Linked DNA regions of Homo sapiens: region 1 is linked to region 2. Evidence: promoter capture Hi-C in human tissues and cell types (Jung and others, 2019). All regions are on one chromosome and are shown on one strand. Each heading gives the region's core, a stretch centred on a gene start or on the middle of the fragment in contact. The rest is flanking DNA. Distances are from core to core; before and after follow the strand shown. Region 1 has its middle 20 kb from the start of SCIMP. Region 2 holds the start of USP6 (ubiquitin specific peptidase 6).

Region 1 (6,916 bases), core at 3,978-6,477, 140 kb before region 2:
TGTAGCTCAGATCACCTCGGGTAGGGCCAGGTGCACAGTGTCTGATGGAAGAGGGGAAGCCTGCCTGCAGGTAGGGGACACAACAGCAAGTGGGGTCATTGCCTTTACCATACTGTGTTGCATTGCAGCTTAAATGGATGCAGCTAAACAGCTTTTTTTCTTCTTTGAGACAGAGTCTTGCTCTGTTGCCCAGGCTGGAGTGCAGTGGTGCGATCTCGGCTCACCGCAAGCTCCGCCTCCCAGGTTCACGCCATTCTCCTGCCTCAGCCTCCCAAGTAGCTGGGACTACAGGCGCCCGCTACCACGCCCGGCTAAATTTCTGTATTTTTAGTGGAGACGGGGTTTCACTGTGTTAGCCAGGATGGTCTTGATCTCCCGACGTTGTGATCCGCCTGCCTCGGCCTCCCAAAGTGCTGGGATTACAGGCATGAGCCACTGCACCTGGCCTTTTTTTTTTTTTTTTCGTTTTGTTTTGTTTTGTTTTGAGACAGAATCTCGCTTTGTCACCCAGGCTGGAGTGCAGTGGCACGATCTTGGCTCACTGCAACCTCTGCCTCCTGGGTTCAAGCGATTCTCCTGCCTCAGCCTCCCGAGTAGCTGGGACTACAGGCTCATGCCACCATGCCCGGCTAATTTTTTTGTATTTTTAGTAGAGATGGGATTTCACCATGTTAGCCAGGCTGCTCTTGATCTCCTGACCTCGTGATCTGCCTGCCTCAGCCTCCCAAAGTGCTGGGATTACAGGTGTGAGCCACTGCGCCCGGCTGAGCTTTTCTGATTATATTATCGTTACCACTAACCCAACCCTCAAAAACTGGACATGGGGCTTGCAAAGATAGACAGATTGAATATAAACTAATAAAGCCAGCACAAGCCACAAAAAAGGAAATAGCAGACCTGATGCTTCTTCTCTTCATAATAGAAGTCCTTCGTTAGCCACATTATAGGTAAAAACATGATCTCATCAGATCTGCCAAAAATCTGGCAAATGAGCAAGAGGGAGTGAGAGAAATTATCAAAAAGAGTGTTTGCAATACATTTGTACATCCCTTATCACTAACAATGCCTTTCACCTTCAGTATATAGTCTGTCCTGAGAAAAATAATAATAGTCGTATGAGTAATTATAAACAAATAATTGGAATAGTTGGCAGCGTGTGCTCAAAAATGTTTTGTTGTTAGTGGTAAAATCACCTAACTCAGGAGATCATTCCAATGCCTGCAAATTTCTTAATGAATCCAGGACTATTTTTTAAAACATTTTTTATTTTTTGAGATAGGGTCTCACTCTGTTGCCCAGGCTGGAGTGCAGCAACTTGATCATAGTTCACTGCAGCCTCCAACTCCTGGGCTCAAGTGATCCTCCCACCTTAGCCTCCTGAGCAGCTGGGACTACAGGTGCATGCCACCACACTCAGCTAATTAAAAAAAAAATAGAGACAAGGTCTCAAAATCCTAGGCTCAAGCAATCCTCCTGCCTTGGCCTCCCAAAGTGCCAAAACTATTCTTGATCCCAGCACAATGTGTGACCCAGAGTAGGTCCTTAATAAATATTTGTTCAGGCCGGGAGCGGTGGCTCACACCTGTAATCCCAGCACTTTGGGAGGCCGAGGTGGGCAGATCACGTGAGGTCAAGAGTTCGAGACCAACCTGGTCAACATGGTGAAACCCCATCTCTACTAAAAATGCAAAAATTAGCTAGGCGTGGTGGCAGGCACCTGTAATCCCAGCTACTCAGAAGGCTGAGGCAGGAGAATCATTTGATCCCAGGAGGCGGGGGCTGCAGTGAGCTGAGATCACGCCATTGCACTCCAGCCTGGGTAACAGGGTGAGACTTTGTCTCAATCAATCAATCAATCAATCAATATTTGTTCGGTGAGTTAGTGAGTGAATGAAGGCATTCAAGATTAGGAACTTGCCAGTATGCCCAGCCTTGCCTCACCTCATCCCGGCCCCCAATGCCATTTCACCCTAAGTGCCCAATATCCAGACTGCTTACTGCTCCCTCAGAGTCTTCCCAGCCCATCTGTCCGACCCTGGCACACCTCTCTCAGCTTATTCCTACAAACCCTTTGGGACTTGAGTGTGAATGGAATCTTTTCTAACAAACCTTCCCTGACCCAACCTCTGCCAGATCTGGGCTGAAGACCCCTTTGGAGCCCTTTTCATATTGTTCGTAATTTTTAGTTTTATTTTTTGGGGCCCACTCCTTGAAGGCAGGATGTAGGTCTGCCACCAGAGTTTCTTTTTTTTTTTTTTTGAGACAGAGTCTGGCTCTGTCCCCCAGGCTGGGGTGCAGTGGCACAATCTCAGCTCACTGCAACCTCCACCTCCCCGGTTCAAGCGATTCCCCTGCCTCAGCCTCCTGAGTAGCTGGGATTACAGGCATGCGCCACCACACCCAGCTAATTTTTGTATTTTCAGTAGAGACGGGGTTTCACCATGTTGGTCAGTCTGGAGCCACCAGGGTTTCAATGAATATTTGCTGGATGAATAAATAAATGGAAGAAAGAATGAAACAGTTGGCTTGGGCATGGTATTCAGGCACAAGTTTACTATTATGATGTCAATCAAAGGCTCGCAGATTCCTCATTAGGTAGAATAAAGTTTACAGGAACCCATCCCTTACTGATGTTAGTCATTTTTCAAGGCTCTAAACTTTGCCTCTGGCCTTGGTTTTGGCACCCATCTTTCTCTGGACCAAGCTGTCTCCTACCACACACCCCTCTTCTCCCTTCCCCTTCTCTCTGTCATCAGATTGCAAGCTTGTACCCTGAGGGCTGTCTCAGGCAGCAAGGATCTGGATCTACAGGCTTGGTGAAGGCACAATTCCTAGTCTCTTGCCTTGAGCACACACAGGAAGTCAGCCACCCAGCCACAGTTATATTTAGATTCCTGTCACCTGATGGGGTCATCTGTTAATCAGGGCATAGTGGTAGGTGCAGCATTTTGGGAGTAAACTGAGGTAGGACCAAGGTAGAGAGGAAGTGAGCAGAAAAGTCAGGTACTGACTCCAGGCTCTTTGGCAGGATGAATATTCATGGCTTACATTACACCTAGAGAGATAGAAGGCAGACCAAAGGAGGAACTTGACTTGAGAGAGAAAACAGTTCTTGGCTTGGGCAGGGTAACGGTGGTGCCCCTGAGAGCAGCAGGAAGAGCTGGCCCCTTGGGGCCTCTTGCAGTCCTGAAGGCCAGTTGGGTGCAGGAGCAGGAGCACGGGCCCCTTTGCTGAGTGAGCGGGGCCGAGTGAGTGGTTTTTTTCCATAGGCAGGAATACCCAGCTGCGGTCAGCAGAAAGAGCTGTGGTCACAGGACCCTGTACACAGGGTAGAAACCAGAAAGAAGCAGACATAGCAGGAATTTTTTTTCAAGCTTCCAAGAGCCTTCTCTGCCCTCGATTTGGTTTATCAAATGACTGCTTTGGGAGCTGGGGGACGGGCCCTAAATTGTCATGGATCCAGTTGCTTCTCCCTCCTTTTCTTTTTCTAACCTCGCCTTCATTTCCAAATGACCCCCTTTTATTTCTAGAATCCACCCCCACCACTATAGTAGGTACCTTGCAAGGAGCTCCTGCCCACACTCCTTTCTTTGGCATCCAATCCATTCCAGATCCTGCTGACAGTGTTGGCTTCCCACAACCCACTCCTTTCTGAAATGCTCGGGTGCTGGCCCATCACCGGGGGATCGTCTACACCCCTCCGTCTGGCTTCTGAGTTCTCCATGTTCTGACTGACACTCACCCTTCCCAACCCCAGGCTCACCTTTCTTTCTTTTTTTTTTTTTTGACAGCTTTATTGAGTTATGATTGACATGAAATAAACCGCACCCATGGCCAGGCGAGGTGGCTCGTGCCTGTAATCCCAGCACTTTGGGAGGCTGAGGCGAGTGGATCACAAGGTCAGGAGATCGAGGCCATCCTGGCTAACATGGTGAAACCCCGTCTCTACTGAAAATGCAAAAAATTAGCCGGGCGTGGTGGCATGCGTCTGTAAACCTAGCTACTCAGGAGGCTGAGGCAGGAGAATTGCTTGAACCCAGGGGGCAGAGGTTGCAGTGAGCTGAGATCGCACCATTGCACTCCAGCCTGGGTGACAGAGCGAGACTCCATCTCAAAAAAAAAAAAAAATCAACTGACTATATATGTGCAGGTCTATTGCTTGACTTTCTTTTCTGTTTCACTGATCTATTTATGTATTACCTGCAACAATAACACATTGTTTTTTTTACTGTAGCTTTATGAGAATTCTTGAATCAAGTAGTAAGTCCTCCAACTTATTCTGCTTCAAAGTTATTTTGGCTATTCTAGGTACTTTGCATTTCTAAATAAATTTTAGAATCAGCTCATTCTACCAAATAAAGCCCACCAAGGTTTTGATTGGAACTGTGTTGATTTTGTAGATCAATTTGTGGAGAATTGAAATCTTACCAATATTGAGTCTTACGATCCATGAATATGATAGAACTTTCATTTATTTTGATTTTCTTTATTTCGATTTTCTTTATTTCTTTCTTAATTTTTTTTTGACAGAGTCTTGCTCTGTCACCCAGGCTGGAGTGCAGTGGCATGATCTCAGCTCACTGCAACCTCCGCCTCCCAGGTTCAAGCAATTCTCCTGCCTCAGCCTCCCCAGTAGCTGGGATTTCAGGCACGTGCCACCATACCTAGCTAATTTTTGTATTTTTAGTAGAGACGGATTTCACCATGTTGGTCAGGCTGGTCTCGAACTCTGACCTCAAATGGTCCACCGGACTTGGCCTCCCAAAGTGCTGGAATTACAGGTGTGAACCACAGCATCCGGCCCTTTTAGTACTTTTTAAATGTTGCTTTAGCATCTTCTGCATCACATTAACTCCCAAAAAGAAGATTGCTGTCATTTTTATATTTGTTTTTTTCTCTGGCTGCTTTTATATCTTCTCTTCATTGCTGTTTGTAAGTAGCCCGATTAAGATGCACCTTGGGCTGGGCGTGGTGGCTCACGCCTGTAATCCCAGCACTTTGGGAGGCCGAGGCGGGCGGATCATGAGGTCAGGAGATCGAGACCATCCTGGTTAACACGGTGAAACCCCGTCTCTACTAAAAAAATACAAAAAAATTAGCCGGGCATTGTGGTGGGCACATGTAGTCCCAGCTACTCGGGAGGCTGAGGCAGGAGAATGGCGTGAACCCAGGAGGCGGAGCTTGCAGTGAGCCGAGATCGCGCCACCGCACTCCAGCTTGGGTGACAGAGCGAGGCTCCGTCTCAAAAAAAAAAAAAAAAAAAAAGATGCACTTTGATTAGTGTTCTTCATGATTCTTGTGCTTTGGGTTCATTGAGCTTGCTGGGTGGGTGTATTATCTACGGGTGTATCATTCTCATCAAGTTAGGAAAAATTTTTCCCTTATTTCTTTGAATATATTTTTCTGTACCTCCTCCTTTTGGAAATGGAGTCTCGGTTATTGGAAACTCCAGTTACACGTACATTAGGCTTCTGGAAGTTATCCCCCAACTCACTGTCATTTATTCTCAGCCGTTGTCTTTCTCTGTATTTCACTTCAGATTACTTTCTTTTCCTTTTTCTTTTTTCTTTCTCTCTTTTTTTTTTTTTGAGAAGGAATTTCACTCTTGTTGCCCAGGCTGGAGTGCAGTGGCGTGATCTCGGCTCACCGCAACCTCCACCTCCCAGGTTCAAGTGATTCTCCTGCCTCAGCCTCCTGAGTAACTGGGATTACAGGCATGCACCACCACGCCCGGCTAATTTTGTATTTTTAGTAAAGACTGGGTTTCTCTATGTTGGCCAGGCTGGTCTCGAACTCCTGACCTCAGGTGATCCGCCTTCCTCGGCCTCCCAAAGTGCTGGGATTACAGGTGTGAGCCACCACGGCCCGCCCGGATAATTTCTATTACTGTGTCAAATTCATTAATCTGTGGTCTGCAGTGTGTAATCTGCTGCAAATTCCATTCAGTGTACTTTTCATCTCTAGAAGAGATAGATGATAGATACACTCATATATACATACATAGTCTATCAGTATCTATATATCTTCTATGTCTCTACATAACATGCTCTTGTCCACTAATCTCATCATCTCTGTTATTCCTGGGTCTGTTGCAATTGATTTTTCTCTTCATCATGAAAGTATTTTTCAGATTTATTGAATACTTGGTAATTTTTCACTGAGGGATGTTATTTTAGATAAAATCAAAGCCTCTCTGAGGAGGGCAACATTAGGTTGGAAAATAAGAATAGTTGACCCTTTAACAACACAGGGGTTAGGGGTGCCAACCCCTGGTGCAGTTGACATCCCACATGTTATTGGTAAGGCTTCTGGTCAATAGTAGGCTTAACTGCTAATAGCCTGCTGTTGACCAGAAGCCTTACCAATAACATTAACAATCGATTAACACATTTTGTATGTTATATGTATTATATACTGTATTCTTACAGTAAAGTAAGATAGAGAAAAGAAAATGTTATTAAGAAAATCATAGGCCAGGTGCAGTGGCTCACACCTCTAATCCCAGCACTTTGGGAGGCTGAGGCAGGCAGATTACTTGAGGCCAGGAATTCGAGACCACCTGACCAACATGGCAAAACTCCATCTCTACCAAAAATACAAAAATTAGTCGGACATGGTGGTGGGCTCCTGTAATCCAAGCTATTTGGGAGGCAGAGGCAGGAGAATTGCTTGAACCTGGGAGGCAGAGGTTGCAGTGGGCAGAGATTGCACCACTGTACTCCAGCCTGAGCGACACAGCAAGATTCCGTCTCAAAAAAAAAAAAAAAAAAAAGGCCAGGTGCAATGGCTCATCATACCTGTAATCCTAGCACTTAGCACTTTAGGAGGCCGATGTGGGTGGATCACCTGAGGTCGGGAGTTCGAGACCAGCCTGACCAACATGGAGAAACCCCATCTCTACTAAAAATACAAAATT
Region 2 (6,598 bases), core at 3,725-6,224:
GACCTGGATCTATTTTGCAGGCCACAGTGAAGGGCTGTGTGAGCTTGAGTCCTCTCTGAGCCTCACATTTTACATCGAAATCATGAGGGGCTGGTCCAACTGGTTTCCAAAGTCCTTCCAACTGGGACAGCCTGTGGATCTGCCAGCGTTCCAGCTGCACCAGCATGCAGCACATGTGCCCACATGTGTGCACACCTGCTTACATATGGCCACCCACCATGCTGAAGAAACAGCCCTTGGCATCCTTGTAGCTCTTCTCCACCAATTTCTTGTCCTGGTCATGCATCTCATTCAGGATCCAGCTCAGGTTCACTCCAGGCACAGTGTCCATCTTCACACTGACATCCTCATCCACCTGACCTCAAAGGGCCTTCATTTCCTGGGCAGAGAGGACAGCAGGAGCTCACCCAAGGCCATCCTGGGGAAAGACCCTGGGGCCTGCCTTCTTTCCCTCGGAGAGACAGGTGCAGATGACAGACAGACAGACAGACAGACACAGATAGGCCAACAGCTCCTCACCCTGAAGGTGGAGGTGGATATTGTCATTACTCAAACATACAGGGCTATGAATATCAGCAACCTCCCACAACACACACTGTGACTCGGGACTGGACTTCACCCATCCCCAACAAGTGCTAAGCCCTGAGAGATAACAACCCCCCAGCACAGTGGAGGATGACCACAGGCGACCTCACTCACTGCCCTGACCTTGCCCCCACCACTGCCTTGCCCCCACCACCAACCCCACAGCACAGGCATGCAGAGAGCAACCCTACGTTGGTGTCACCGTGCCAGGCCCCATTAGCAAATGTTAATCTGCTGGAGGAAAGCAATGTATAACCAGCCTCAAAGCCAGGGGGAAACACCTTCCGGGTGTCCTGCTTCTTGGGGAGTAGGCTTCCCCAGCTTAGAGCAGCACAGAACTCGGCTGAGAAGGAAGCCACAGGAGAGGGCACGTAAGGCCTCCTGACTGCCCCGGCAGGACCTTGGATCTCTATCCTTGGGTTGAGCCTTGGAGTTCCTGGGACCTAGAACCTTCTGGAAAGGAGAGGCAGGAGAGGGGGCAGAGAGGTGGGGTGGATACAAGTCCGACAGACCTGAAGGAGGGGTCCCTGTGCAGCCGTAGATAAATCCCTTAACCTCTCTGAGCTTCAGTTTCTTCACGGGTCAAAAGGAAGAAAGAGTATCTTTCTCCCAGCTGTTTATCAGCTGAGATGATGGCTGTGAGTCACTTGTAGTGCTGGGCAGAAGTTCCTTGTTTTAATGACTATCACTATTATAATTAATTATAATAATTAGCATTGTGTGTTCTTACACTGAGTTACTCATTAGTTAGTTAACTGCAGTGAGCTGAGCCTCAAGGGACAAATGAAGTCTATTTGGGAAGAGGGGCTCCTCCAGGCCTCACCCAGGGTCCTCTGAGGGTCAGGGCTAGGCATCCATAAAAGATGGGAACTGGACTGGAAGCATGGCCCAGCCCAGGGGGTTTCTGGGCCCCAGCCTCGCTTGCTTCCAGGTGAATTTCTGCTGCATTCCCTGAGCTGACCTCACTTTAGTGGGGGCTGAAGAAGGACAAAAGAGTTAATTTTCAGATAATCAGGTAATTCATGAAATAAAAGCCCACCTATTCAAAGCTTTTATAGGTAGCAGAAGCTAATGTAGTAATGTCCAATTTGTAAACCTGAATTCCACAAAATAAAACCTACCTGTTAGGGAGCAGTCTACTTTGGAACTTTGAGAAAAGAGCCTAAATGATCAAAGTTTGCCTTCATAAGATTTTAAACAGCTAAAGAACCAAACTCCAAGAGGACCAAAACTGAGAAAAAGTCAGAGTCTGATAATCTCTTTGAGGAAGAGGGGTGATTGGAGTGTGGCTTAGGAGAGGTTTCTTCATATAAATACTTGATAGTGATAGAGGCAGGACATGAAGTTGAGAAATTCTAAGCAGATGTGGCAGGCCCCCAGTGAAACCCCATCTTTGAGCCGAAAAGCCTGAAACCCACAGCCCAAAGTGAGAACTTCTATTCCTGTTTGCTTACTCCCTCCCGATTGGTTCTTTCTGAATAATGTCTTCTTACCAATCAAATGTTGCCTTTTCCAAAAATACCTATGGCTGCCCCACCCTCATCCTGTGCCTATAAAGACCCCAGACTCAGTCAGTAGATGAGAGAGATGGCCAGACTTTCGGGAAGAAATGGCCAGACTTTGGGGAGAAGATGACCTGCCCTTTCTACCCCCTCTCTAGCTCCCCTCTCCGCTGAGAGCCACTGTGATCACTCTGTAAAATTCTCCACCTTCACCATCCTTCAAGTGCTCCACACAACCTCATTCTTTTTGGATGCCAGACAAGAGCTTGGGACCCACCAAGTTTGGCTACCCAAAAGGCTGTCACACTCACCCTTTGCCCTCACCAGTGGCAGGTAGCCACCCCACGCAATGGGGCTAGGGGCCAGCTGAGCTGTTAACACATACCCATCCTCAAACAGTGGCGCTAAGAGAGCACTGTAACACTCCCTCTGGGGATTTGGGATCACAGGCACCCCCACTTGGGCAGCACCGCAGACCCCAAATGGAGCTTGCTCCTGCAGCTGCCCAGAGCAGCCAGCTAGATCCTGCAGTCGTTTGCTCATGCCTGGTCTGGTCACAGGCTCCGCAAAGAGCTTGCTCATGCTGGTGCCTGTAGTGGCCAGCCAGATCCTGCACTTGCTCACTCACCTGCACACTCCTGCAAGAGGTTGAGCACAGTGGGCTGAGTAAACAGGGCACCCCTGTCTTGAGTCCCACGAAGGAATCAAGGAAAAAAATCCTGTATCAATAGGAAATAAGACTGTCACTACCATCCCTGAGGGAGAGAGCACATGACTATGGTAGAATAAGTGAATGCTAGCCAGTAATCTGCCAATATAGTCCACTTGTCTTGATTTTTTTTTTTTTTTTGAGACGGAGTCCCACTCTGTTGCCCAGGCTAGAGTGCAGTGGCATGATCTCGGCCCACTTCAATCTCCGCCTCCCAGGTTCAAGTGATTCTCCTGCCTCAGCCTCCTGAGGAGCTGGGAGGAGCTGGGATTACAGGTGCATGCCAGTACACCCAGCTAACACCATGTTAGCCAGCCTGGTCTTAAACTCCTGGTGATCTGCCTGCCTTGGCCTCCCAAAGTCCTGGGATTACAGGTGTGAGCCACCCCACCCGGCCTCACTTGTCTTGATTTTTAATGCCCTTAGAGTGAGGCCACCATCATCTCTTGCTTGTACTATTATCGCAGCCTCCTAACATGCCTCCCTGATTCCAACGCTTCTCTACAGGGCAGCTGGAATGTTCTTCCTTCAGAACAAATCTGATAGTGCCATCCCCCTCTCTAAATTTCCACAGTGATTTCCCACTAACTTCAGCCTGAAGTCCAAAGTCCTTATTGTGACATATATATTCTGATGCGACCCCATTTATTCACTTGTGCTGTAAATATTTATTGAGCTTTTTTTTTTTTTTTTTGAGACGGAGTCTCGCTCTGTCGCCCAGGCTGGAGTGCAGTGGTGCAATCTCAGCTCACTGCAACCTTTGCCTCCCGGGTTCAAGTGATTCTCCTGCCTCAGCCTCCTGAGTAGCTGGGATTACAGGTGTGTGCCTCCACACCCGGCTAATTTTTGTATTTTTTGTAGAGAGGGGGTTTCACCATGTTGGTCAGGCTGGTCTCAAACTCCTGACCTCATGATCCACCCGCCTCGGCCTCCCAAAGTGCTGGGATTAGAGGCTTGAGCCCCCTCGCCCAGGCTTATCGAGCTTTTAATATGTGTTAAGCAGCGGGTGCTACAAAGCAGGGTGAGCATAAATGGACAAGTCTCTGGCCTGATGGAACTTATAATTGTAGAAGAGAAACTAATTAGAATCATTAATAAAGTTGCAACCATAAGTGCCAAAAAGGAGAGGCATATGATACTACAGTGGGGAGTCTCACCTAGCTGGGGAAGGCTTTCTGCAAAGTACTTACCTTTCCTTCCTATTATTTACCCATGAACTCTCTGCAGTTCCCCAAGAATGTAGGCACCGCCCTCTTGCCCTGTGGCCTTTCCACGAGCTGTTCCCTCTGTGAAGATTGCTCCCTCCGTACCTAGCTCCATCACTTTTCAGTACTTGCTATGTGTTGGGTACCGTGATAAGCACTTACCATCAATTTTCTCTTGTATTTACCTCAGTGAGTGCAACTGTTAACCCTGTTTTATACATAAGAAACTACGCTCTAGAAAGGCAAATTTGCCCAAAGACTCACAACTAGTAAGTGAAGAAACGAATTCAAATTCCGGTCGGCCCGACTCGAAAGCGGTCTTGGCGGTACAGTCTTGGGTCTCCCAGTTCCTTCCTGTTCAGGCCTCACGTATCTGCCCGCCTTTCCTGACAGACCCCTGGTGAGGGTCTAGTGCCTCCACGGGCCACGGCCATCGTAAGGCAGCAACTGTAACTTGTCGCCCGCCCCACTAGGCTGAGCTCTTCCCGGACAGGCACTGGCCTTTTCCCTTTCGTCGGCTCAGTGACTCCAGGTAGACGCCCCTCAGACACCACACGAGACGGCGGCTCACATGGGCCAGAAGTGTTTCCCCTCTCCCCCAGCGGCTTGTCTAGGAAAACATGAGGACTCGGTTCGACTCGATGGTGCGGGCCTAAGCCCCGGGAAGCCGGGAGTGGTGAGGCGGGCCGCCGGGAGCGGGGCCGGGAGTGGTGAGGGGGGCCGCCCGGAGCGGGGCCGGGAGTGGCGTCGAGCAGAGAGCCCGCAGGCGGGAAGTCCTCTCAATGAGCGTCTCGAGCGCTGCCCGCGGCCCCTCCTGACTGCTAGTTGGAGCGGGGACAGCATGGGCGCGGCCGCCAAGGTAGCGTCGAGTGAGGGGAAGACTGATGGGCGCCTGGAGACGAGCTCCCACAGCGGCCACGCATTTGGAGCTGGGCGTCGGGGCCCGCCCGTCCCGCCGCGCCGCTAGCTGTCCCCTCTGCCTGGCCTCCGTGCCTTGCGCCCCTTTGTGCCGTCCAGCCCTACAGCTTTGAGGCCCTTTCGGCGCACGCACCCCGCCCCGATCCCCCGGCGCTATCCCAGCCTTGACGGCCGGGGAGGCTTTCCCTAGCCCGGCGCCTCGAGGACCGCCTCAGTGGCCAAAGGCGGCGCGGGGTGCGCCCGGGCTGTGTCCCCGGGAGGCTGGACCGCCAGTCCGCGCATGAGGCCATCTGTGAGGCACGAGTGCAGGAGAGTGAAGGAGACCGGGGCGTGCTGAGTAGGGACCTCCCTCAGTGACTGGAAGGTTATTCATGGGGCCTTCTGACACTCTAAAAACGAAATTTCTCCGGGGTTTGATGAGTATCAGGGTGGTGGCTTCTTGAGTTTTGAGCAGGCATCACAAATCAATCCCTCTGGAATACAGAACTGCCTCTGTTCCGTTTTGGGTTTTGTGTGTGTGTGTGTGTGTGTTTTTGGAGACGGAGTCTTGCTCTGTTGCCCAAGCCGGAGTGCAGTGGCGCCATCTCGGCTCACTGTAACCTCCGCCTCCCGGGTTAAAGCTGTTGTCCCGCCTCAGCCTCCCGAGTAGCTGGGATTACAGGCGCCCCCCACCACGCCAGGCTAATTTTGTATTTTTAGTAGAGAGAGGGTTTCACCATGTTGGCCAGGCTGGTCTTGAACTCCTGACCTCAGGTGATCCACTGGCCTCGGCCTCGCAAAGTGCTGGAATTACAGGCACGACCCACCACATCCGGCCCTCTGTTCCTTGTTTCGAAATAACTCAATTAAAAGTCAGAGGCTCACTGGCCACATCTCCTTCCACCCACCCACCGCCCCACCCCCCAAAAGATGCCTCTAGCAAATAAAATGAGACGTCCTGATGCCTTCCTGGCTCGTTCCAGAATTTTTAGCTTTGACTTTTGACGTGGGGTCCTTCTACCTAAAGTCCCCGCCGTCACATCAGCCCCCAGTTTTCCTCTGTCTTAGCTCGGGCTGCCGTAACAAAATACCATAGACTGGATGCCAGACAACAGAAATTTATTTTCTCAGTTTTGGAGGCTGCAAGGCTGTGACCAGGGCCCAACATGGTCAGGTTCTGGTGAGAGCTCCCTGGCTGCCTTCTCACAGGGTCCTCACATGGCAGAGAGAGAGGGACCCAAAGCCCTCTGGTGTCTTTTTTGTTTGTTTGTTATTTTTTGGGACGGAGTCTCACACTGCTGCCAGGCTGGAGTGCAGTGGCCCGATCTCGGCTCACTGCAACCTCCACCTCCCAGGTTCAAGTAATTCTCCAGCCCCAGCCTCCCAATTAGCTGGGATTACAGGCACCCACCACCACACCCGGCTAATTTTTGTATTTTTAGTAGAGAGGGGCTTTCACCATGCTGGCCAGGCTGGTCTCGAACTCCTGAGCCCAGCTGATCCACCCGCCTCGGTTTCCCAAAGTGCTGGGATTACAGGCGTGAGCCACTGCGCCTGGCCAGAACTCAGTCCTTACAGAACATCAGAGAATCCATACAAGGTGAGAGAGAGGCCTTATAAATGCATTGGGTGTGGGAAAGATTTGAAGGGGAGCTCACAACTTATTCAGCATCAAAGAATTCACAGTGGAAAGAAACTTT

What was found. The method cuts DNA at HindIII sites, captures the fragments that hold promoters and counts their contacts. A contact is called where the count stands out against the background at its distance.
Region 1: a contact is called between a fragment that was not itself captured here and the fragment with the promoter of USP6 in region 2, in 1 of the 25 tissues and cell types used here (pancreas).

What each region holds. Positions count from the first base shown.
Region 1 is chr17:5,251,331-5,258,246 of GRCh38, reverse strand. No RefSeq gene overlaps it. Among named protein-coding and RNA genes, the nearest start is that of SCIMP, 20 kb to the right of the region's middle. RefSeq lists an enhancer at 3,224-3,729. The HindIII fragment of the contact is 4,315 bases long and covers 3,070-6,916 here.
Region 2 is chr17:5,114,408-5,121,005 of GRCh38, reverse strand. It overlaps USP6 (ubiquitin specific peptidase 6), which reads right to left and starts at 4,974. Exons shown (of 38, transcript NM_001304284.2): 1 at 4,266-4,974; 2 at 2,716-2,806; 3 at 218-379. It also overlaps a transcript of ZNF232 not described here. The HindIII fragment of the contact is 4,107 bases long and covers 4,289-6,598 here.